Regions from separate parts of the Homo sapiens genome. Here all the other regions are linked to region 3. The links are contacts of gene promoters, found by promoter capture Hi-C in human tissues and cell types (Jung and others, 2019). All regions are on one chromosome and are shown on one strand. The core of a region is centred on a gene start or on the middle of the fragment in contact, and the rest is flanking DNA. Distances in the headings are between cores, read along the strand shown.

Region 1 (4,547 bases), core at 617-3,116, 370 kb after region 3:
CTGCCTCTCTCCAGGGTCTGTAGAATGGACTGGGTACTAAGGAAGCCCAGGTGTTGGAGCAAGCCATGAAATACCTGAACGGAAGTTGCTGATCTTCTCCAAGTTCCCTCCCCGTACCCAGAAGAGCAGGCCTTCCTGTCTGAGATGGCCTGGCCTTCAGCTGCTTCAGAGACCCAGCCTAGGGGCCAGTTTTAACTCTCTAGACAAAAGGCAAAAACCCTCAAATGTCAACAGGGGCCAGGCAGGAAAAGTAAGAGTAAAGAAAAATAAGAATATTTTTCACTTCCATAAAAAACAAAGGCAGGAGAAGACCCTGCTTTACTGGTTTGAGAGCCCGGGGACCTTTGTCAGCCTCCCTCCAAAAAAAGGCAAGTGAGGCAACTGACCCCCTGCTTCAGTGCGGAGAGGCCAACAGAGCATGGACAGGCTGTGGGGAGGGTGGGCTTGCCAGCCCCATCTCAAGTGGCAGCCGCTCTTCAGCTCCAGCTGATTTTTGCCCTGTGGGAATGTGTGCCCGACCTTCCCAGATCTTCCCATTTTTTCAGAGAAGCCAAAAATTTGGGTTTTGATGGGACACCTCTTGATTTTTAAATGCTGGCTCACAGTTTGTTAATGGGGTCAAATAAATCCCACGTGTAGGTCACTTGTGGATAATCTCTGCCGTAGACCTCACTCTGGTGTGAGGTGGGGTAGGAGTGTGACAGGAGCCACGGGGGATGGGAACAAGGACTGTGGTGGCATTCGGATCATGGTTGTCTCACAGCCTGGCAGAGCAGCTGGCCACAGTAAGTGCTGAATAATAAGTGGACACATTACGGGGGCCTCCGGGAAGAGCTGCTGCAGCATGTGGCTGCCTCGGCAGGCCCAGCCAAGGCCTTGGGGACCAAACCCACTAGGAGTCCTGACACTGGGATATGGTCAATAGCAGCCACATGTCCTTCTTTGCTTTCAACTACGAAGCCTCAGTGCTCAGTTTCAGCAAAAGCCTCTCTCTCTTTCCCACCATCTTTAACCTTTCCCTAGCAGAGGGGGCTCAAGTTACTCTGAACCATTCCAGAGGAGAGCCAGCCTCAGCTGTGCCAAAGGACTGCTTTCCCCGCAGGGGCCGGGCTAGCCAGCTGCTACTCACAGGCTGAGTACAGCTTGCATGGAGATGAAAAGAGCGGGCACATTGAAGGTCTCGAAGAAAACTTCGGCAGCTCGTTCCCGGTTTTTTCGTGGGTTTAAAGGCGCCTCAGTCAGGAGCACAGGATGCTGGTGAAAGGAGCCCGGGAGACAATGAGGCCAAGGCCAGATTTCCATCTTCATTAGTCTTAGGGGAGAAGACCCTGCCTTGCTGGTTTGAGAGCCCGGGGACTTCAGTCAGCCTCACTCCAAAAAAAGGCAAGCTGTGCCTGTCAACTATCCCTGCCCAAGTAGTTTTCTCAACTTTTCAAGTTAATGCCCACTTTAAAATTTCATTCTGTCCTCAGCTGTGCCCCCCAACTCCCCTCCTTGTCCTCCAAGATTGTTATACAGGCCCCTGTGTCTACTGTGTATCTCCAACTGTCAAGAAGATTTTGTGAAACTCTAAATTCCTGCCGCAGACCAGTTCTAGTCTGTGACCTGTTAGGAACCAGGCTGCACAGCAGGAGGTGAATGGCAGGTAAGCGAGCATTATTGTCTGAGCTCCACCTCCCATCAGATCATCCAAGGCACTAGATTCTCATAGGAGTGTGAACCCTACTGTGAACTGCGCATGTGAGGGATCTAGGTTGGGCACTCCTTATGAGAATTGAATGCCTGATGATCAGAGGTGGAACAGCTTCATCCTGAAACTATCTGGCCACCCCAAACCCCCACCCCCATGGAAAAACTGTCTTCCAAGAAACTAGTCCCTGGTGCCAGAAAGGTTGGGGACCACTGCTTTAAAAAAACTGTCTGAAAACAGCCGGGCGTGGTGGCTCACACCTGTAATCCCAGCACCTTGGGAGGCTGAGGCGTGCGGATCATCTGAGGTCGGGAGTTCGAGACCAGCCTGACCAACATGGAGAAACCCCGTCTCTACTAAAAATACAAAATTAGCCGGGCTTGGTGGTGGTGCATGCCTGTAATCCCAGCTACTCAGGAAGGCTCAGGCAGGAGAATCGCTTGAACCTGGGAGGCAGAGGTTGCGGTGAGCCGAGATTGCGCCATTGCACTCTAGCCTAGGCCACAAGAGCGAAACTCCATCTCAAAAAAGCAAACAAAAAAAACCCAAAACTGAAAACATCCCACCTGCACCTGGAAATTGATACACCTAGTCTGCACCTCTCTGCATTTTCTTTCTTTCTTTTTTTTTTTTTGAGACAAGGTCTCACTCTGTCACCAGGCTGCGAGTTCAGTGGTGCGATCTTGGCTTACTGCAACCTCGATGCCCCCAGGCTCAAGCAGTCCTCCCACCTCATCATTTCAAGTAGCTGGGACTACAGGCACGCACCACTGTACCCGGCTATTTTTTTTTTTTTCATATTTTTAGTAGAGGTGGTGTTTCGCCATGCTGCCCAACTTGGTCTCAAACTCCTGAGCTCAAGAGATCCACCCAAAGTGCTGGGATTACAGGCATGACCCACAGTGACCAGCCTCCCTTTACATTTTTGAATGGAGAGTTACTTCCTTACAAGTTAATAAGCACAGGCTGCACAAGGTGGCTCACGCCTGTAATCCCAGCACTTTGAGAGGTGGAGGCGGATAGATTGCCTGAACCCAGGAGTTCGAGACCAGCCTGGGCAACATGGCAAAACCTTGTCTCTACAAAAAATACAAAATTTGCCAGGTGCCATGGCTCATGCTGTAATCCCAGCTACTTGGGAAGCTGAGGCAGGAGAATCATTTGAATCCGGGAGGCAGAGGTTGCAGTGAGCCTAGATCACGCCATTGCACTCCAGCCTGGCCAACAAGAGCAAAACCCCACCACACACACACACACAAAATTAGCCGGGCATGGTGGGGGGTGGGGCTGAGATGGGAGGATTACTTGAGCCCAGGAGGTCGAGGCTGCAGTGAGCTATTGCACTCCAGTCTGGGTGAAAGAAGTTAATGAGCACAGGCTTTGAATTCTAAAAGACATAGGTTTGAATTCCATCTCTACCCTTTGTTCACTTGGTGACCTTGGAAATACCACTTGGCTTTTCTTTTTTTTTTTTTTTTTTGGGACGGAGTCTCACTCTGTCACCCAGGCTGGAGCACAGTGGCGCAATCTCGGCTCACTGCAAGCTCCGCCTCCCGGGTTCACGCCATTCTCCTGCCTCAGCCTCCGGAGTAGCTGGGACTACAGGCGCCCGCCACCACGCCCGGAGAATTTTTTGTATTTTTAGTGGAGACAGGGTTTCACCGTGTTAGCCAGGATGGTCTCGATCTCCTGACCTCGTGATCCACCCGCCTCGGCCTCCCAAAGTGCTGGGATTACAGGTGTGAGCCACCGCGCCCGGCCACGACTTGGCTTTTCTGAACTTGTTCCCTTGTTTGTAAAATGAGATAATACTACCTATATCTCATAGGAATGGTGTTAAGATTAAATCTGAATATGCCTGAAAATCAAATGGCTCCAGCACTCTTGGCAGTGATCATCGTCCTCCTCATCATCTCTAGGGTAGGAGTTTGACACAGCTTTGCATACCCTACAGGAGTGCCCTACACACAGGATCCTCACCTCCTCTGAGAAAGTCTGCAGCTGGTCCTTAGAATAGACATATTGCCAAATGCGTTCCATGTCGTTCCAATCCTTGACGATGCCATGCTCCATGGGATAGCGGATTGAAAGCAGCCCTCGGTGCTCCTGGGAAAAGAGAACAGGACTTACGACTGCAGTCAGGCTCCACCCAGGACCCTGTTCTCCCAAGACTAAGCAGTGCAAGCTGAATCCCTTGCAAAGAAGCCTCAGCTTCCTGAGCTTCCACCCTGCTGTCCTTGCCCAGGGCTAAGGGTGGGCACTCATTCTCCAAGGCTAAATACTGTTTGCTGCAAACTGCCCTCATTCCCGAGGAGCCGGCAAAGCAGGGGCTTCTGCATTTCCATGGCCCCTCAGGTGCCTCTAGGGCAAGTGGCAGGAGGCATCTTCCTCATTGCCTGGTTCCAGGACACAATCTCCTGGCTCCCACCTCTGGGCCTCAGCACTTGAAGCCAAGGATGGCAACAGCGATTCTGCTATCTGCTTACAAGAGGCTGCATGAGGGCTCTGACAAAGCTGTGTGAATTAACTCATCCCTAGGGTACCCCAGCCAGGATCTCCCCACTGAATATTTTTTGTGAAAAAAATAATAAACACAGTAAATTTGATCACTGACAAGGCAGTGACAGGATGCAGAAGACAACAGCCCTGTTTCCTAGACTGGTCTCAGTGTGTCCCAAAGTGAGGTCCCAGGTATTTTCTTCTCCAAGACCACAGGCTGTTCCTGGGAAAAATAAACCACCTAAGCCTAGGATGAGAGAATCAAAAAGGAGATTTTCAGAGAAAGTTGCCCCTTTTACTTATGGGTATGTCCAAATGTTGGGACATGTTCCATGTGGTGAATAATGAAGGTCCTCTG
Region 2 (3,985 bases), core at 270-2,769, 470 kb after region 3:
TACCTGCTTGAAGTGCAGTGGTGAGCCTGTGTGTGAGGAGGCTATGCCCTCATGGCAACAGCTACCCTTGGCAGAATCTGAACATCTCAGAGACATGGCCTGAGGATCCTCATGAGTTGTCTCTGCCACGGTGTGGGAGGCACTATTTAGACCTCCATTTACTTGAAGCCTAGTGTTCCTCAGGAATTCCTACATCTGCCTGTGGGAAAATGGTGATAGATTTCAAAGGCTCTCCAAGGTTCGATGTTTCCTTCTGAGTGCCATTTCAGCAACATAGGAATTTCGGTCTGTTTCTCCAAGGTGAAGGGCTTTCATTGCCCTGTTGCCTCTCTGTGGACTTCTGGCCAGGTGGCCCTACAGAAAAGCACCTTATTCTTTCTTGGCAGATCCAGTCATGGCTCCTGCCTCCCACCATGAGTCGGGATATTGGGGAAGCGAAGCAGATGCCAGAAGTCTTTCTGGTTTCCCAGGCCGAAGGAGCTTTCACACTAATAGCCTGTCCTTTTCAAGTCTGACAGAACTGGCAAGCAGGAACAATTTAGGTTTTTGGAAATATCCACAAACTCTTTGCTTCCATCCGGAGTGAATGCTTCTCTTCCTTCACAGGGGCTACCCTAAGAGGCTGGGAAGCCTCCCAGCCTGGGCTAGTGAGATCCCAGCCCAGATTCCAGGCCTGGATCTGGGGCCTTGAACAATGAGGATCCTTGTATCTCTCCCACAGAGAACACCTTCTGCAGTGGGGACCATGTGTCCTGGCACAGCCCTTTGGATAACAGTGAGTCAAGAATTCAGCACATGCTGCTGACAGAGGACCCACAGATGCAGCCCGTGCAGACACCCTTTGGGGTAGTTACCTTCCTCCAGGTGAGGCACAGGTTGGACGCTGGCTCAAGCCTTCCTGTGGGAAGGGTCCTGGGAGGACAAGGAGGCTTGAGGAGGGGGAGTGAAGGGAGTGGGAGGTTTCCTTTGGCCTCGTCCTGATTTCTGTTTCCTCTGATGGTTTGTCAGGTAGATTCAGATGGTCTGATTTAACCTGCTGAGATGGGAGAGGGGAGAAAGGGAAGGGGGCATTTGGTTGGGAGAGAATGGCTGTAGCTGAGAGGGAGTAATGGGGTGGCGGGTATTCTTTGAACAGTGAAGACCCAGTCTCAGGAACAGGACTTTCCAGCGGGAAGCCAGCTCTGGGTCGTCCTTGCTCTTTGCCAGAAGCTGTGGGAACCTGCCCAGCTTTGACCAGTGCTTGTTTTTGGTCACGAAGTCTATGTGAAGGTTCCACTGATTCCCTTGATATTTACACAAAGGCCTATCCCCTAATAAGGAAGGGAGGAGTTTCTCTGCAGGCTGCTATGACCTATTGGTGGTGGTTCCAAGCCTGATAGGTCTCAAAGTCTCTTGTTTACATTCCCCATGATACCAGACTGGGTAGGAATGGCTCCCTGAACCTCCCCTACTTCCAGAGACATGGCCTGAGGACACATCTTGAGTTGCTCAGGCCTTGGTTTTCTCCTTTGTAGCTAAGAGCTAGACTTGGTGTCATCCAGACACAGCAAGGGCAAGGGTCAGGCCTCAGGGCCCACATGTGGACCCAGCCATTTCCCAGCCAGGCAGCCACTCCCTCCTAAGGGAATCATCCAATCTTGGCTGCACCAGCTCCTGAGCACAGATCCTGCCTGTGGTCTCCCAACTGGAGGTGACTCAGAGAGCCTGGGTAGCTGACCTTCTTGGGGTGGGGGGTGGCCATTAACACACAATGGGCTTTCTATCCTGGGCCTCAGATCGTTGGTGTCTGCACTGAAGAGCTACACTCAGCCCAGCAGTGGAACGGGCAGGGCATCCTGGAGCTGCTGCGGACAGTGCCTATGTGAGTACCCATGCAAGGTGGGAGCGCGGCTCCCTGGGCCTGGGGGTGGGAGTCCCTCCACTACCCTCCATGTGGGGCTCCCTCTTGCGTTGTTATTTCAGACCCTGGTTTTTCACATCAGGGCTTCCTGACGACTCACTCCCTGACAGTCCCTGACCACGAACTATTCCCCTGTGTCCTAGGCCTGGGGCAGCAAACAGGGCAGGCTGTAGGCCCAGCCCATCAGCCCCAGACCCTCAGTTACCATTGTATCCCCTTTCCTTGTCCACAGTGCTGGCGGCCCCTGGCTGATAACTGACATGCGGAGGGGAGAGACCATATTTGAGATCGATCCACACCTGCAAGTATGTCTTGAGTGAGGAAAACCTTTCTAGCACCCTGTGCCTAGGCCTCTTCCAAATAACACTGGCTTTCATCCTGGGAAAACAGAGGACCTTTATGTGTGAGTGAGTAGAAATATGGCATCACTTGGAACTTGTCCCCTGAATTCTGCAGAGCACGTAGGGAGCAGAGGTTTCAGCCCAGGAAAGCTAGTCCTCAGACATATGTATTTTGGCATTTTAAAAGGATATTTTTATTGTATGTAAATTATATATTGGCTTAAAAAATTAGATTGCCAGCAATAAAAGATAAGTGTAGTGGATATTGCTTGCTTGCCCAGTATTCATTCTCCTGCCTCCCAGACTTTCTTTTAGGGAGCCACCACGGCCACCACCGCCCTGTACCAGACAGTAGTGTAGGTGATACTGACTCCATGGCTCAGCTGCAGGAGTGAGGGCTGATTGGTCTAATGGTCCTATCCCCATTTTCGCCACATTTTCTATCTTGGACAGTCAGATGCAGAGCTCCTAGCCTGGAAAGATTGGCACCTTAGACACACAGGCTGGCAGCTGCCCACTCCCTGTGGCCCACCTGGACATTGTTTCAGTGTCATCTTTGCTGTTTTAGAAGCATTCCTTTGTCATGCAGGTAAAGTTTGAAAGCCACAAGAACGTAACTGCCTTTTCTTTTTTTGAGACGGAGTTTCGCTCTTCTCACCCAGCCTGGAGTGCAGTGGCACAATCTCGGCTTACTGCAGCCTCCGCCTCCCAGGGTCAAGCAGTTCTCCTGCCTCAGCCTCCCGAGTAGCTGAGATTACAGGCGCCCACCACCACGCCCAGATAATTTTTTGTATTTTTAGTAGAGACAGGGTTTCACCATGTTGGCCAGGCTGGTCTCGAACTCTTGACCTCAGATGATCCGCCCGCCTCGGCCTCCCAAAGTGCTGGGATTACAGGTTTGAGCTAGTGCGCCTGGCCCATAACTGCCTTTCTTATGGGCTTCTCTTGAAGCAGGAGCCACAGACAGCTAATAATGTTACCTGCCTGGTGTCTGGCTCCTTCTACTCCCCTGACCAAATGCAGGTCATTGCCATCTCTAAACCTGCCATGCTTCTGTAAAATATCTGGTAGGCCACAGGCAGTTGCCGGGAGTTCCATGTGTTAGAGCAAGAGAAAGGTGGCAGATGGACATGTAGCCAGCAGCCCCTGAGTTCTTCACTGTAGACTTGTGAGTTCTTGGGCATAAATCCTCTTCATTCACAGATGATGCTCCTCTGTTTTCCTAGTGCCTTTAACACTGAACATTTCAAACTGCTGCCAGGATCCTCTGTTCTCTCTGCTTTAAACTTGGTTTCCTTGTATCTTCTGCATATGCAAGAACCAGGAACCAGGAAGGCTATCTTTCCCTAAGCCCTTGTTCTGTAGCCACACTGGGATCCAGCATGGGGCACTGTGGGCCGTTGTTTGGCCCCTGTCATAAGTGCCAAGTACTAAGAAAGAACCTGGTCCTTTGCACTAGTAGGGTAAACAGCTGTCCTTCCATGCCAAGGGCTGTTCTTCCTAGTCTGCAGGATCCCCTGAGAGCAGCCCACAGGACCCGGAGCACCTAGTGGTCTTTGAAAGCAAGCCAGGGTCCCACAGGAACAAAGGACAGCTTTCTTTCCTGGTGGCTCTGTGCACCAAGTGTGAACTCCTCTGTATTCACTGTGCCTTTCTGGGGCCTGCTTGCTATCAGTCTCTTTAGAGCTGGCATATATTCCTGTGATTCAAGCTCTACACTAACCAGCTGTGTGCCCAAATAAGT
Region 3 (4,389 bases), core at 992-3,491:
CTTCCTTGTGTTCAAGCATGTGCTCCCCCATCCAAGCAAGCTGCAAGCCAGGTCCCCTCTCTAACCTCAACTGCTACTATTCCCCACCTCCAGTCTACTCTGAAGCCCTCCCCATGTGGTTCTCCTTGAAGTCTAACCTCCATCCACCCTCTTTGGCATCAATCTATAAGACTTCTTCATGATCTGGAAAAAGACTCCCCACTCTTCCCTATCTTTTGCCCTCTCTCCCTCAGTCAGACCACCAGACACAAAAGGAACATGCCTTCTGGGGCATTGACTGAAGTTGTCTTCCCACCCACCCACAAACCCCTGGGCTTGGGCCCTCTTCCTGTTCCCATGCTGCTCCCAGAGACTAAGAAGAAGAGATTTTCTCTCTCCTCCCACTGGACCCAGGCACCCTGCCCCAACTTCAGGGCCAACCTCCCATCCACCTCCAGCCTGACAACCCCTCCATACATACATACCCGCTTACCCACTATTTGTAGGAACTAAGAATCACAATTTAAGACTCATCCCTCTAGCTTGTTCAGATCCTTAGTTTAACTGCTCTGCTCATGTGTGTTGATGGAGGGTCAGGGCCCTGGGGTGGGCTAAGAACATGATGGATCTGAAAGGGGTACCCAGCATGGGTCAATTATAAAGGAGAAAATCCACAACATAAACATGTACACCAAGCTGGTAGAAAGAGGGACGACGGGGCCAGACAGGATTCCAGCTTGGCAAGCTCTTCCCTCTCCTCTCCCCAACCCTCTGCAGCAGGAGCCAGTGGTTCCCATACTCGGATATTCTAGGATTGTTAGGTTCTCTTATTCCTCCTTCTGGGACCCATGCCCCTTAGACATCAGCCTCAGCAGGCACCTGAAGTGTGTGCCCAGCCCAGCTTGGCCTGGGTCACATGATTTTCAAGGAAGCTTCCGCACTGGCAGCTTCCCTTGGGGATTTGTGGGGGAGTGGTGGGTGTCCAGCTGTGAAGTATGTAGCCAAAGCGGGCTACATTCAGGGACACTGACTTCCAGGAGAAAGCTGACTCCAGTCTGGGGCAGGAGGGCCAATTCCAGGACCCAGAGTCCCGGGGATGGAGACAGACAGTGTGCCGTGAGGCCCTCTGTAGACTACCTCTCCAGTCGCATGGCTTCTCTCTTTCCTCCTGGCAGTGAGGTAGACGCCCTCCGCCCCCCCCACCTGCCCCCCAGGAAAAAAACTCAGACCTAGGCTATCCCTGGCAAGAGCTGATATGTTTTGGGGAGGCAGGGATCTGAGCCTGGGTCCTCTCTCAAGTTCTCAGTTTTGGGTCAAGTATTGCTCCCCCAGCTTACCTCTCCACAAATCACTCTATTTCCTAGCCTGCCCTCCCACTAGGGCGGAGATGCCAGACCCAAGGGTCCAATTATCTGGCACCTCTTAGGAGTACCTCCGGTGCCTCAGGAGGGCCAACCTTCCCTGGCAACAGGCAGGAAAAGTTGAAGGTGGGGGGCAAGATGGGCCGCAATCAATACCTCCCTGCAAACAGGGTCCTCAGAAACAGCATGGGGGGGATGTCACAGGATAGGTAAGAGGCAATGGGCAGCAGGGAAGGGGGGGCAGCCCAAACCAGCCAATCACAACTCTATGGTGACCTGAGGGGGGGGGTCAAAAGTCCAGAGTCACTTCTGATTGGCTAACAACCTGGAATTCTGAGAATTTCAGCCCCCCCCAAACCTCTCCCCAATTAGCCTACCCCCAAAAAAACATACACATAAGCCACCCCCAGCGTCTCCTCCCCGTGTTTCTGGGCTGCTGCGCATTTACACAGTTGGGGAAAACGCTACCCGCCAGCCTGAGGCCCCGCGTAGCCCTTCCAGCCCCCGGCTTCCCCCATGCCATCGACGCCCCCCACACAAGTTCTCGCCAAACACGGGGTGAGGGGTCCGCAGGGACGGCTGGGCAGGAAGGGGCCGAGTGGCCGCACGCCCCACTCACCAGGACAGGCACAGCCCACTGACATCTTCACATCGCCCGCCTCTGGGGGCCCAGCCGAGTCACGGTGCCCGCCCCTCGCGGGGACAGGCCGGGCATGAGCCGCCGCCGCCGCCCGCGGCCCCCGCTGCGCTCGCCGCCGGCCCGGCCCGGCCTCGGCCCGGTGCGGGCGGCCCCTGGCTGCGGCGAGGGGCCTGTCAGGCGCGGAGCAGACAGGAAGGAAGCCAGGCAGGAAGGCGAGCGGCCTCTGCGTGTGTGCGCGCGGGTGTGAGTCCGCGGAGTGTGTGTCCGTGTGTGCGTGTGTGCGCGTGTGCGTGTGCGTGTCTGTGCGCTCCCGCCGCCGTCGCCGAGCGCCCCCCTCTCCGCCCTCGCGCTCGCGCTCCCTCGCGCCGGCGCCGGCTCCCCAGCCCAAGCCGGGCAGGGCCGGGCTTTATTAATATGCTAATTGTCCTGCTAGTGGGAGGGGAGAGCCGTGTCAAAGTGACCCGGGAGAGCGCGCAGCAAGCGACGACGTGCGTGCGCCGCGCGGCGGGCGGGCGGCGAGGGGCTGGGAGCGCTCGGGGAACGGCATGCATGTGACGCAGCTTTTAAAAAAGGAGACGGAGGCAGAGACCCCAGAGAGGGAGGGCGAAGGGGAGGGCTTGGAGGCGCAGCCGCGCGCTCGGTGTCCGTCCTCCGGGTGCCGCCGGATGGGGAGTCTGGCTGAGCCGGAGCGGGAGCCGCGGCTGGGGGAGGCGGAGCCGGGGTGGGCAGTGTGGTGTATCTCTCTCCACCCCGGGCCGCGCTCCGGGAGGGAAAAGGGACTGCAGACCCCCTGTCCGTGCTCCCTGCTGAGACGCCAGCCTTCTTCTGGAGGCCCCTTGTTTCGCGTCCCTACCCTAGGCTGGATGGGTAAAGAAGCATTCTCTTAATTCTTGTAGCAACCCCTCAACTCACCCCTTCCCTAAATTAACCACTCCTCCTTTGCCTGCGAAACCAGTTGGGACTAGAACTAAAAGGGTTAATTAAGTGGGGTCCCCGCCCTCCTCCGCCTAAGGGCTTGGGATCTGTGTTTTGCTGGGGGGAGGGGGCTGCGGAATGACCACCAGATTGGATTACGGAGGGGCGATAGGAGGCCATCCTTCCTTCTTGCAGACTGACGCATCAGTCAAGACACTCTCTTCCCTTCCCCCCTTTCTCCAGCCTTGGTGCCTTCACCTCCGTACCAACCGCCCAACCCCACCGCCTCCGACCCCCCTGCCTGGAAGCTGCTGTCCTTTGAGGGCTTCGGAGATGAGAACAGGAAACAGGCCCCTCCAGTGCCCCCTAACCCAGAGAGGCAGAGGCTGTGGGCCGTGGGGGGTTGGATGGGAGATGATGTGGATGGTCAATGTAAGGAACACTCCTTCCCCTGGGAGGAGCCTCCCAACCTTCAGTCACACTTCAAGGACTCCCCAACCCAGCCCTAGGAGGGGAGGGGCTCCATCTCCATCCCTTCCCAAAAGCTCAGCTTTAGCTGCCTCATAAACAGGAAATACCTATTAGCCAGGAGGAGGGAAGGGAGGGGAGCCGCCTGGAGTAGAGAGTTGACCCCCTCCCTCCTGGGGTCCCCAGCTGCTAGCTTTTCTTTCTTAAGTTTCAGTATGGGCTCCAGGGATAGACGATGGAGACTTGGACTAGTGTCTCCTCCCTAGGGCGTCTGGCCCTGACTGGGTAGGGGGTTCTCCTCTTTGTTACTTAGAGGGGTGTTGGTTGAGAAGGCTGTTTGGTTCCCTCACTCTGGCTCAGAGTCTGCACAGCTGGCTTGACTGGCTGGGGGAGGGTTACAAATGCGGAGGCTTAAAGTGTTTATGAGACCTCTTCTCTCCACCTTAGGTTTTTGCTGAGGGAGCATGAAATGATGGAACGGTGCAGAGTCCAGGGATTGAAAAGAAGGCCTGCCTAGGAATGGAGACCCTCCCCACCATGTGCTTAGGATGGGGGATAGGGGAGCTTGTACACTGTGGAGTCTCCCACCCCCAGGTTTCCCCATCTCCACCCCCACCAGGAGCAGAGAGGACCTGACTGAAGCCATCCACACTCACACAAGTATTTCCTTGGCAGCATCCCCTGCCTGAGTGCACCCCCTCCCTGCATTCTCCCAGACAAAGGTCAGCACTAGAGGGAGTAGAGAGAACATAAGGCAACAGAACACTGGCCCGAAATTGTGGATACCTAGGTTTGAACGCAAGATTCGCTCCTCAATACCTGAGTGATTTGAGACAACTGACCACCCCACCTGGGACACTAGCTTTATCCTCTGTAACCTATGGCTTGGTGAGTATCAAACTAGACAATGTACACCCAGTCACGTAGCCCAGTGTCAGCCAGGCAGTCCTGTAAATACGTGTTCTTTCTGCCCTTTTTTTTTTTTTTTTTTTAAGATTATCCAATTCCAAGAGAGGAGGGGGCTGG

What was found. The method cuts DNA at HindIII sites, captures the fragments that hold promoters and counts their contacts. A contact is called where the count stands out against the background at its distance.
Region 1: a contact is called between a fragment that was not itself captured here and the fragment with the promoter of LDB1 in region 3, in 2 of the 25 tissues and cell types used here (heart left ventricle and lymphoblastoid cells).
Region 2: a fragment that was not itself captured here is called in contact with the fragment with the promoter of LDB1 in region 3 in 1 of the 25 tissues and cell types used here (adrenal gland).

The regions. Positions count from the first base shown.
Region 1 is chr10:102,484,480-102,489,026 of GRCh38, forward strand. ACTR1A (actin related protein 1A) reads right to left here. Exons shown (of 11, transcript NM_005736.4): 4 at 3,671-3,796; 5 at 1,130-1,254. Among named protein-coding and RNA genes, the nearest start is that of ACTR1A, 16 kb to the right of the region's middle. The HindIII fragment of the contact is 9,793 bases long and covers 1-4,547 here.
Region 2 is chr10:102,591,861-102,595,845 of GRCh38, forward strand. It overlaps SUFU (SUFU negative regulator of hedgehog signaling), which reads left to right. Exons shown (of 12, transcript NM_016169.4): 4 at 722-864; 5 at 1,776-1,861; 6 at 2,133-2,205. Among named protein-coding and RNA genes, the nearest start is that of TRIM8-DT, 49 kb to the right of the region's middle. The HindIII fragment of the contact is 8,336 bases long and covers 1-3,985 here.
Region 3 is chr10:102,118,127-102,122,515 of GRCh38, forward strand. It overlaps LDB1 (LIM domain binding 1), which reads right to left and starts at 2,242. Exons shown (of 11, transcript NM_001113407.3): 1 at 1,960-2,242. The coding sequence starts at 1,984. It also overlaps a transcript of PPRC1 not described here. RefSeq lists enhancers at 1-422, 2,128-2,879, 2,880-3,631, 3,632-4,381 and silencers at 1,882-1,951, 2,042-2,121, 2,182-2,481, 2,502-2,631. The HindIII fragment of the contact is 10,982 bases long and covers 1-4,389 here.